Regions from separate parts of the Homo sapiens genome. Here all the other regions are linked to region 1. Evidence: promoter capture Hi-C in human tissues and cell types (Jung and others, 2019). All regions are on one chromosome and are shown on one strand. Each heading gives the region's core, a stretch centred on a gene start or on the middle of the fragment in contact. The rest is flanking DNA. Distances are from core to core; before and after follow the strand shown.

Region 1 (3,865 bases), core at 346-2,845:
ACTTCTATGCACAGTGTTGAAAACCCATGTATGCAGGAAGCAAAGAAAGGTGTGAGGGTGGTAGACGACCTGCTTGGGGCTCCCGTGCCTAAAAAAAAAAAAATGTTGTCAAAATTAGCCAGCCCCTTCCACCCAAAATTTCCATCAAGATGGGCACAAGGACCCTCATCTCTTGTTCACCGAGTAGCCATTGGTTGCTCACAGCCACTTATGACCTTCTTACCTCTTTCTGATCTTCCTCATTTTCTGCCTTATTGGTGCTGGCCACATAACAAATGCTGTGGTCTTATACATGGTGCTCTCAACCCCAGTGACCAGTGGTTGATAAGGAGTTTCTATTTTGAGCACGTTGGTTGTTTCTGACCTGGCCTATAGGCATGGCTGCTGGGGTCAACATCTGAAGGGTGTTCCCTACCATATGATGACTACCACAAGTGGCATATGTTCTTTATTTTTGAGACAGGGTCTTGCTCTGTAGCCCAGGCTGGAGTGCAGTGGTGCGATCATAGCTCGCTGTAGCCTTGAACTCTTGGGCTCAAGCGATCCTCCCACCTCAGCCTTCCAAGTAGCTGGGACTACAAGCACAAGCCACTGTACCTGACTAATTTTTATTTTATTTTATTTTTGTAGAGACAGAGTCTCACTGTGTTGCCCAAGCTGATCTCAAATTCCTGGCCTCAAGCAGTCCTCCCGCCTCAGCCTCCCAAAGTGCTGGGATTACAGACATGAGCCACCACCCAACCTCATGTTCTAACTGATAAAACTTACAAGTTTATAAAACTTATAAAATTCTCAGAAAGTGAAAACTGATTTGAGAAATGACCTGGATATGAAAAACTAAGTACAGATCCTTTAGCGACTTACAAGTTGGTTGACTTTGGTGACATCACTTTGTCTCTCTTGACCACTATAAAAGAAGGGTTTGGAGAGATTCCCAGCTATGGGCCAAGGACTAGTTACATCATAATCACCTGGGGCCATTGTTAAAAAGTCACATTCCCACACCTTTTCACAGTTCTGAATCAATCTCCTGAATGGGAATGTTTTCCTAGCAAACAATCCAGGTGATTCTCATGGGCATCCGGGCTTAGGAACCACTGTGGCAGATGATCTCTTCTGATGCGAAGAGGTCACTGAGCTTGGCTGTGTTAGCCAGGTTTAGGTGGGGCTGGACCGGGTAGGGATAGGGGACTGTCTGACCTCTCCCAGGGACTGTGTTCAGGGAACCCAAGGGAATCTGAGAAGGAAGAGAAAGTTACCACCTTTGACACATGTGGCAGAGTTCTCTGGAACCTCTCCTCTGTTCCTACCACAGGAAGGCCACAGGCACGCACCAGGGCTGTACTGGCCTAAACCATAGTTCTGTGCTGACTGAGAGGTTCTGAAATTAGAAAAGAGGTCTAAATCCTGCTTCCAGGTTTTTGTGAGGTGGAGAAAAGCAGAGTGACCTGGGAGAAGTGGTTATCAACAACACAGCTGGTGACTTCTTCCCTGGGGTGAGGAAGGTTTTCCCTTTCCCTGCCCCGAGCTGCAGTGGTGCAGTCTGTTACCTTGGAGACCAGCTAACACATTCCCGCAGGGCAAGCTTCGCTGCTGAGTTGCTTGGAGGAGCTTGGAGAAACCAGAAGTGAGATCCAGGAGAAGTAAGGCCCTGGAGTGCCAGGAGCCCTTCTCCCAAAGATGGAGAAATAAATGAAGAAATACAGGTGAGGGTGAGCATCACAAGGGTTGACAGGGGTGGTGAGAGGGTGTCGGGGAGGCCAGATACTAAGCTCTGGACTGAGTGAGAAGATCGAGGGAGCTTGGGGTGTGAAGTGTCCACTCCCTACATGCCGAGCATTGGGCTAAATGCTGGGGTGCCAGTAGACAAGGAAGTCATGGAGCCGGTCTAGGAGACAGGCCATGACAACTCCATATGACCAAGTGAAGGGGCAGCGACAGGAGGACTTCCACAGGAGGAGTGGTTTCCTCCCTGGGGACAGCAAATGGGATTCAGGAAAGACTCCTATTATTATTATTATTATTTTCACCCAATAATCAAGGTTCCCTCTCTCCCTTGGACCAAAATGCCATCTGCCATGGCCTGGTTGTTCTTTTCCTCTCCTGCAATCACCTCCCAGGGTAATTCAGCTCACCTTTGCCTAAACTCTGGACCTGCTCTGAGTGCATTTATTCAACAAATGTTTTTTGAGCAGCTACTGTGTTCTAAACTCTATTTTATGCAAAAATGTCCTAGCTGTGAACATTACTAAGTCCCGGCCCAAATGGATCTACTTCTAGTATGTTTATGTAGGAGGGGTGCGCGGGGGTTCAGACAGTAAATAACTAAATATATAGAAAATTTAAAACAAGTAGATAAGCAAATATATAGAATGTATTTACTGTTAAGTAAATAAGTGAATATATATAGTGAAACATGCTGTGGGGAAAGACAAAGCCAGGTGGAGGAGGTGCTGTTTGAGTTAAGGTACTCACAGAAGACCTCTCTAATAAGATTTCATTTGAGCAAAGGCCTGAGGGAAAGGGCTGCGTCCTGTTCATGTCTATCTCCCCAGCACCCGTTCTCTCTGGCACGCAGTGAGTGCTCTATAAATGTTCATGAAACACATGATTGTTTTTGTGTCATATGCTGAAGTGCTTGAAGATGCAGCCCATATTTTATGGTATTCTACATTTGTATAGTACTTCATATTTCACAAAGCAGTTCTACTTTCTCAATTTCATTTGATCCTCTTGATAACAGCATTGAAGTAGGCAGGTCAGTTACTGTTATCCCCATTCCATTCTAAAGATGAAGAAACCAAAGGTTCAGCACTTTTTTGTTTGTTCGTTTGTTTGAGACAGAGTCTCACTCCAACACCCAGGCTGGAGTGCAGCGATGCGATCACAGCTCACCGCAGCCTCAAACTCCTGGGCTCAAGTGACCTGCCCACCCCATCCTCCCTAGTAGCTGGGACTACAGGTGCGCACTGCCATGCCCAGCTAATTTTTGTATTTTTTTTTTTTTTATATAGAGACGGGGTCTCGTTATGTTGGCTAGGCTACTCTCAAACTCCTGGCTCAAGCAATCTCCCTGCCTCAGCCTCCCAATGTGCTGGGATTGCAGGCATGAGCCATTGCACCCGGCCCCGTGCTTTTTCTGGAGCACTATTTTGTTTTGTTTATTTTATGCAGTTCAACCCCTTCTCCATCAGCCTGCACCAGTCACCCCAGAATCTAGCCATGCAGTCCTCTGAATTCATTAAGAGCTGTTAATCACTGGCTGGAAAGAGGGAAGTGAGACACTATGGGGCGGCCAGTGTTCATGAGGCATTTCTATTTCAACAGTCTCTGCCATTAGAGTCTCCCAGGAAAGCTTGCTGAAGTAAAGCCAGTTTTTTTTTTTTTTTTAAAGCATTGCCACATTATCCTGGTGCTTCCCAGAAAACAAAGCATCCTCTGAATAAAAGATTAAAGACTTGAAAGAGAAAAGCAAGTTGCCAAACCATTATTAGGCTGTTTAATTTAATGATTTCACAAGAACACACACTCTAAGTTGCAACTTTATTCAGAGTCTCTCACTTGCTGTGTCTTAGCTGGTATTTTTTTGGTTGCAAATAACAGAAAGCTAAAGGAGCTAGCTGAAGCAAAAAAAAAAGGTAGAGAATTCTAAGAAACAGGGTATCTCATGGAACCCAAGAACAGAAAGGTCTCACACGTGCCTGGGATATATAATTAGAAATTCAAGAACCAAGGCAGGTTGGGCGTGGTGGCTCAACACCTGTAATCCCAGCACTTTGGGAGGCCAAGGCAAGTGGATCACCTGAGGTCAAGAGTTTGAGACCGGCCTGGCCAACATGGTGAAACCCCGTCTCTACAAAAAATA
Region 2 (3,865 bases), core at 686-3,185, 58 kb before region 1:
CCAATTGTCCCACTGCTACTTATCAAAAATACTATTCTTTCCCAATTGAATAGTCATGTCACCCTTGTTGAAAATCAACTGATCATAAATGTGAGAGTTTATTTCTGGAATCTCAAGTTTTTTTCCATTGATCTATGTCCTTATACCAGTGCTACATTATCTTGATTACTATAGCTTTGTAGTATTATAGGTTTTGAAATTGAGAAGTTTGAATCCTCCAACTTTTCTCTCTTTAAAAAATTCTATGGCTATTCTGAGTCCCTTGCATTTCCATATAAATTTTAGGATCAGCTTATCAATTTCTGCAACAACAATGACAAAAACCCAGCTGGGCTTTTGGTAAGGATTGCATTGAATCTGTAGATCAACTTGGAAGTATCGTCTAAGTCTTCTAATCTATGAGTATGAAATGTCTTTCTATTTATTAAATCTTTAGTTTCAGCAACATTTTATAGTGTTCAGTGTACAAGTCTTGTACTTTTTTTGTTTGTTTTTTTGAGAGGGAGTCTCACTCTGTCGCCCAGGCTAGAGTGCAGTGGCACGCTCTTGGCTCACTGCAACCTCGGCCTCCTGGGTTCAGGCAATTCTCCTGCCTCAGCCTCCTGAGTAGCTGAGATTACAGGCACCCGCCATGATGCCCAGCTCACGCCTGTAATCCCAGCACTTTGGGAAGCCGAGGCGGGCAGATCACGAGGTCAGGAGATCGAGACCATCCTGACTAACCTTGAAACCCCGTCTCTACTAAAAAAAAAATACAAAAAATCACCCGGGCATGGTGGCAGGTGCCTGTAGTCCCAGCCACTTGGGAGGCTGAGGCAGGAGAATGGCATGAACCCAGGAGGCGGAGCTTGCAGTGAGCCGAGATGCACCACTGCAGTACAGCCTGGGCGGCAGAGCGAGACTCCATCTCAAAAAAATAAAATAAAATAAAAAACATGCTCACAATACTTACATTAGCCTATAGTTGGGCAAAATCATCTAACACAAGGCTATTTTATAATAAAGTGTTGAATATCTCTTGTAATTTATTGAATATGGCACCAAATGTGAAAAACGAACTGGTTTTATAGGTACTCCAGTACATACTGGTTTTGCACGATGGTCAAGTTGAAAAACTGTAAGTCACGGACCACGGGGACACTCTATGTACATTTAGAACTAATCTAAGTTCACTTTCAAATGACACTATACCACTTAACAAGTAGTACAATTACTTTATAACAGAATATTCCCAATTCCTTTGTCCTCTTCCTTATTGCTGTCATTCATTTTACTTATCCATAAGCTGTAATCACTGACACATTGTTGCTATTATTTGTTTTGAACAAACTGTTGTCTGTCAGTTAGGAATAAGAAAAAGATTTTATTTTGCCTTCATTTATTCCTTCTGTAATGTGCTTTCTTTCCTTATGTAGGTCCAAATTTCTGACTGAAATCATTTTCTTTCTCTCTAAAGATTATCTGTTATCATTTCTAGCAAGACAAACTTTCTGGTGAAGAATTCTCTCAATTTTTGTTTGAGAAAGTCTTTATTTCTGTTTCATTTTTGAAAGATAATTTTACTGGATACAGAAGTCTAGGTTCATGTTATTTTTCTTTCAACACTTAAAATATTTCACTCCTCTCTCCTTGCTCGTGTGATTCCTGATGAGAAGTCTCATGTAATTCTTATCTTTGCTCTTCTGTAGGTAAGGTAGTTTTTTCTCTGGCTTTTTTCAGTATTTCCTCTTTATCTTTGATTTTCTACAATTTGAATATGATATACCTGTGTGTAGATTTTATCTCCCTTGATGTCTTTGGGGTTTAGAAACTGTTTTTTTTGTTTGTTTTTTTGGGTTTTTTTTTTTTTTTTTTTTTTTTTTTTTTAAAGACAGGGTCTCACTCTGTTGCCCAGGGCGGAGTACAGTGGTTGCCCAGTCTCAGGTGATTCTCCCACCTCAGCCTCCCAGGTAGCTGAGACTACAGGCATGCGCCACCATACCCAGCTAATTTTGTTTGTATTTTTTGTAGAGACGGGGTTTTGTCATGTTGCCCAGGCTGGTCTCAAACTCCTGGCCTCAGGTGATCCATCCTCCTTGACCTCCCAAAGTGCTGGGATTACAGGTGTGAGCCACGGCGCCTGGCCTAGACTTCTTAAATAAGGCCTGAGATCTGCAGTTCTTTGAGTTATATTCCCCTTTGATCATACAGGAGTCCTGTCAATATGAATGACGGTAAGGTACATGGGGAGGGGAAGAGTTCTATAATCCTATGAGGAGATCTCAGTCTTTGAGTGAGCCTGTGCCCTGGGCTGTGATCTTCACAAGTGCTTCTTGGTGCCTTGCCCCACTTAGGTGAGACAGGAAAGCTAGAGAGGGCTGGAGTTGGGTATTCAGTTCAGCTCCGGTGAAATAGTTTCTTTTCAGGCACGCCTTGTTGAAAACAGTGTGCTCTGGGCTTATTTCAAAATGACTTATTTCCCCTTTCCCCTGCCAGAAGCAGGAGGGGATTTTTTTTTTTTTTTTTTAATCTTCACTGTGAGGACCTCATAGGGCTCCTAGAGATAAAATGCAAAAATGTGCCCTCACTCTCCTTGCTCAAGCCTGGGCCCCTCTGGAATTTTTAACTCTCAGATTTAATCATACTGAGCCTCAGGAATTCCTCTTACAGGTTAGATTTTCCTACCTTCATTCAGGTTTCTGTGGAGGTTTTGAGGTTTCCGCACCTATAACTTGTGATTTTTTGTATCTACCTGTTTGTCTTTCCAATTTTGCAGGCAGCGGTTTGCCCTGTGTCTTCAGTTCTCTGATGGATTTAAGAAGAGTTGTTTATACTGATTTTGTTCAGCATTTTTCTTATTCCATGAATGAGGATGACAACTTGTAACCTCCTTACATGCCTGACTGGAAATCGGAAGTTACCTGCTTAGTTAAATTTATTCCTAGATTTCTTGTTTTGGGGTTTTGTTGTAGTTGTTACTTTTTTGTAGTTGTTTGCTTGCTGTTATATTATAAATGCATTGCCTTCTTAGTTTTTGGATTTCTCACTGCTAGTGTATAGGAATACAATTAATTTTTATATATTGGTCTTGTATCCTGCAATCTTTCTAAGCTTATTAGTTCTAATAATGTTTTAAAGAATTTGTTTTTGCGCTTAATTGCTCTAGATGTTACCTCCAGTACATGTCGAATAGAATTTGGAAAAGTAGAAATCCTTGTCTTTTAAATTTTATTTATTTATTTACTTATTTATTTTTTGAGACAGAGTCTCGCTCTCTCTCCCAGGCTACAGTGCAGTGGCCCAATCATGGCTCACCGCAGCCTTGACATCCTGGGCCAAGTGATCCGCTTACCTCAGCCTCTCGAGTAGCTGGGAACCATAGGTGCACACCACCATGCCTGGCTAATTTTTGTATTTTTGTGGAGACAGGGTCTCCTGATATTGCCCAGACTGGTCACAAACTCCTGGGCTCAGGAGATCCTCCCGCCTCAGCCTCCCAAAGTGCTGGGATTACAGGCATGAGCCACTGCGCCTGGCCTAAAATTTTTATTTGTTTTTTGGTTTTTAGGGTTTTTTTAGAGGCAGGGTCCTGCTCTGTCACTCAGGCTGGAGTGCAGTGGTCCAATCACAGCTAATTGTAGCCTTGAACTTCTGTGCTCAAGTGATGCTCCTATCTCCGCCCCACGAGTAGCTCGGACTACAGGTGTGCACTACCGTGCCCAGCTAAGTTTTAAATTTTTGTAGAGACAGCATCTCACTGTGTTGCCTAGGCTGATCTCCAGCTACTGGCATCAAGGTATTCCCCCACCCCCACTTGGCCTCCCAAAGCACTGGAATTACAGGTGTAATTCTATACCCAGCCACAAATTTAGTGTTTAACAAACTG
Region 3 (3,865 bases), core at 854-3,353, 36 kb before region 1:
GACTGTTCACAGATTTTTTTTTCACATTTTCATTTTAGAGTAATAATTTGGGTCTTATTACTAAATTAAAATTATTTAAACATGTCAAAGGCATTTATCTCCATAAAGTGTTTAATCCATTCTAGTTTGTAAAGATAGGGGTTTTTTTTTTTTCTTTACATTTATTATGTCTGGTATAGATGATTAAAACTTTGTAAGCGTAACCTGTATTTAGCTGAGTCAGGAATTCTCTTAATAGTGTAAGTCTCTAGCCCACTGAAAAGTCTTGCCTTCTCTCCATTTGTTTTTGAGGGTCAACAAGTCTGGTCAGCTTCTGTGCAACATCATACATCAGTGTATTACCAACGGCCACTGCAAGGATTGATGCTGTTTCCACTGGGTAGCATGGCATCCGCCTGGTCACCTTAGTCAACACACTCCTTCTGCTTCTGTGTGTGTGAAGGAGTCAACACACTCCTTCTGTGTGTGTTAGTCAACACACACCTTAGTCAACACACTGCTTCTGGGTACTGCTACATCCACACCACTGTTTCCTCTAGGTTAAGTGTTGATATACTGTTATCTCCCAATGACAGGACGCTGAAATGAACTACATTATGCTCTACTGAAATAGTTTCATTTTATGTTACACCCTGACATTTACAGTACCACAACAGGATTGCCACTTCCTCCAGTATCTTGCAAACTTTTAAAGGAACTAGCTATTTTTCCTACTACCCTTGCATCCTCCTTGTGCTTAGATACAAATCCACCGGAGGCAAATACAAGTGACACCATGCAGTACTCAGAATCACTCCTTCTTTATGATGGATGGTAAAGACTTCATTACTAGCTTAACTTTGCTTCCTAGACTTTTTCTCTCATGAAAGTAAATTCTTTCCAGAACAATCATCAGTCTTTAATGCAAATAAGTTGCTTGAAAAAGATTTATCCTTGCAGCTCAAGTCCCAAAAATTCTATCCCATATCAGGTTTTGTAATGGAAAGTGGATCAGTAGGTGTTGCTCACATAGCAAGCTGATACTTGTAGTCATATCAACCTTTAGCCATCACTTTAGGGTGGAAAAGAAATGACTTTTCATTATGCCTCTCTTATATGCCTGTGTTTTTCACTAACTTTAGAGGAAGAGTAGTTAGGCAGCCTTACTGACTTGAATAGTACAAAGCATGCCAAAACTGTGAAGCTGTTTGGTGATATGTCCTCCACACTGTGGTCCCAAAAGACCAGTAAACCTAAAGGGACTAATATGGGCCGGCAGGGGGCGAGGCAGGGTAGAACCTTGGGGTATATTCCTGCTTTCAGAGAGGTGGCAAAAGTAAGCCTGGATACCCTGTGCTAGACTTTGTAGCTTTGCCCGGAAGCCCTCTCTATTTGGGGACTAGGCTTATTTAGTTCTCTTTCTAAAACGTTTTGACAAATATAACTTATATTCTAGGACATCTGCCACTGACGCCTGAGTTCAGACATTAATTGTCAATTCTGTAGTCTTTTTTTCCTTCAAGTTTCTCTTGTCGCTTCCTTTTCTCCCTCCTTTCTTTCTTTCTTTTTTTTTTTTTTTTTTTTTTTTTGAGACAGTTTCGCTCTTGTCGCCCAGGCTGGAGTGCAATGGCGCGATCTCAGCTCAACGCAACCTCCGCCTCCCAGGTCAAGCAATTCTCCTGCCTCAGGCTCCTGAGTAGCTGGGATTACAGGCATGCACTACCACACCCGGTTAATTTTATATATATATATATTTTTTTTTGGTAGAGACGGGGTTTCTCCATGTTGGTCAGGCTGGTCTCAAGCTCCCGACCTTAGGTGATCCGCCTGCCTCGGCCTCCCAAAGTGCTGGGATTACAGGCATGAGCCACTGTGCCCGGCCTTCTCCCTCCTTTCAAATTAGACAAACAAAAATATTTTAGTGTCTCTCTGATTTCTCTATGTTTACATTTCACTGTCCCAGGAACCAGCCTAGTCCGTTAGGAACCAACATACTCCCCAAGACACATCTCAAATGACAGTTTGCTGGCCATGTTAAAAATGCATTTCTGATTCTATTTAGGGATACCTTTAGTCCATGAAATAAATGAGAACATTATCAGGATTCATAATTATTATCTGGATATGTCCCTAAAATATAGCATGTTTTGCTGACTTACTGAAATACATATTTGTTTCTAGTTTTTTCTATTTCCCTTCCTCTCAAATAGTTAATTAAATAGTATCAGTGACCTAGGAAAGTCACTGTTCAAACAATTCCTTCCTTAAAATGAAGAATTATCGACTATTCTCTAACTTAGTATTTTAGAGAGAGAGAGAGAGTATAATGTGAAAAAATGTGGTGTCTTTATTCATTTTTTGTTGCTATAACAATACCTAAGACTGGGTACTTTATAAAGAGCAGAAATTATTTCTCACAGTTCTGGAGGCTGGGAAGTCCAAGATCAAAGTGCCAGCAGCTTAGGTGTCTGGTGAAGGACCAATCTCTGCTTTCAAGATGGGTCCTTGATGCTGCATCCTCCTGAGGGAGGAACACTGTTCTAACATGGCGGAAGAGAGTGAATTCATTCTCACAAGCTCTTTTTATGGCAGCATGAATCTGCTTATAAGAGTGGAGTCCTCATGACCTGAACACCTTCCATTAGGCTCCACCTCCCAACACAGTTGCATTGCCGATTGTTTCCAACACATGAATTTTGGGTTGCACATTGAATCACAGCATGTGAGTTCTCAAATAACAGACACAAAAGTTACATAGAAGAGATTGATAGTTCATTCACTTAATATTTATTGCAGACATTATATGTCAGGAACTCTGCTAGGCATTAGATATATATTGGAAAATAAGATAGATACTGGCCATATAGAGAACTTATCTAGCAGTTAACAGACAACAAAAAAATAAAAATAAATATAATTGTCATAGTGCTATAAAGGGAGAAATGTAGTTTTAACAGGAACCTATTAACAGGAAGAATTTACGAGGGAAGTCCTCCCTAGGAAAATGACATGTAAACTGGAAATGAAAGGAAGTGCAGGAGTTAGCAAGAACATGAGCAGGGAATAGTTCTGCCAGCAAAAAGAATAATGTGCAAAAGGCCCTGAAGTGGAAAAGAGTTTGGTGCTTTTAGGAGCTGAAGAAAACCAATGAGGCTAACTTGTGTAGAGCCAAGTGGGGGGAGTGAGATTAGATCTGTCTGAAAAAAAAGGCATAGTTCAGGTAATACAGGACCTGGTAGGCCATTGTAGAGATTTTGTTCTTTATCCTAACAGTGATGGAAGCCATTAAAATGTTTAAGGTAATGTGACAAAAATCAGATTGCATGTTAGAAACAGTTGTTCTAGGCCGGGTGTGGTGGCTCACACCCATAATCCCAGCACTTTGGGAGGCCAAGGCGGGTAGATCACAAGGTCAGGCGTTTAGGACCAGCCTAGCCAACATGGTGAAACCCCATCTCTACTAAAAATACAAAAATTAGCCGGGCGTGATGGCGTGCTCCTGTAATCCCAGCTACTTGGGGGGCTGAGGCAGGAGAATCACTTGAATCCAGGAGGCGGAGGTTGCAGTGAGCCGAGATCGCGCCACTGCTCTCTAGCCTGGGTGACAGAGCGAGACTCCGTCTCAAAAAAAAAAAAAAAAAAGAAAGAAACAATTGCTTTGCAGTATGAAGAAGAAAGGATTGGAAGGGATAAGAAATGAGTGCTGAGAATTTACTTTGACTTGGGTTGGGATGTTGGACATGTAGACAGAGAGGACAGGATAGACTTTTGTTTAGGAGGTAAATTCCACTTGACTTAGTGATTTCAGAGTGGGAACCTATGGGGGAAAGAAGGGGAAGGAGTTAAGAATAACTGACCTGTGCAACTGGATGAATAGTGGTGCCAT

The links. Contacts are between HindIII fragments. The study calls those that stand out against the background at their distance.
Region 2: a contact is called between a fragment that was not itself captured here and the fragment with the promoter of VWA3A in region 1, in 1 of the 25 tissues and cell types used here (H1 embryonic stem cells).
Region 3: a contact is called between a fragment that was not itself captured here and the fragment with the promoter of VWA3A in region 1, in 1 of the 25 tissues and cell types used here (dorsolateral prefrontal cortex).

The regions. Positions count from the first base shown.
Region 1 is chr16:22,090,946-22,094,810 of GRCh38, forward strand. VWA3A (von Willebrand factor A domain containing 3A) reads left to right here and starts at 1,596. Exons shown (of 34, transcript NM_173615.5): 1 at 1,596-1,706. The coding sequence starts at 1,693. It overlaps LOC105371129 (a long non-coding RNA gene), which reads right to left and starts at 1,286. Exons shown (of 4, transcript NR_188624.1): 1 at 1,263-1,286. It also overlaps a transcript of MOSMO not described here. The HindIII fragment of the contact is 3,787 bases long and covers 526-3,865 here.
Region 2 is chr16:22,032,909-22,036,773 of GRCh38, forward strand. The region is part of intron 1 of MOSMO (modulator of smoothened); the gene reads left to right. Among named protein-coding and RNA genes, the nearest start is that of MOSMO, 27 kb to the left of the region's middle. The HindIII fragment of the contact is 4,110 bases long and covers 1-3,865 here.
Region 3 is chr16:22,054,823-22,058,687 of GRCh38, forward strand. The region is part of intron 1 of MOSMO (modulator of smoothened); the gene reads left to right. Among named protein-coding and RNA genes, the nearest start is that of VWA3A, 36 kb to the right of the region's middle. The HindIII fragment of the contact is 8,498 bases long and covers 1-3,865 here.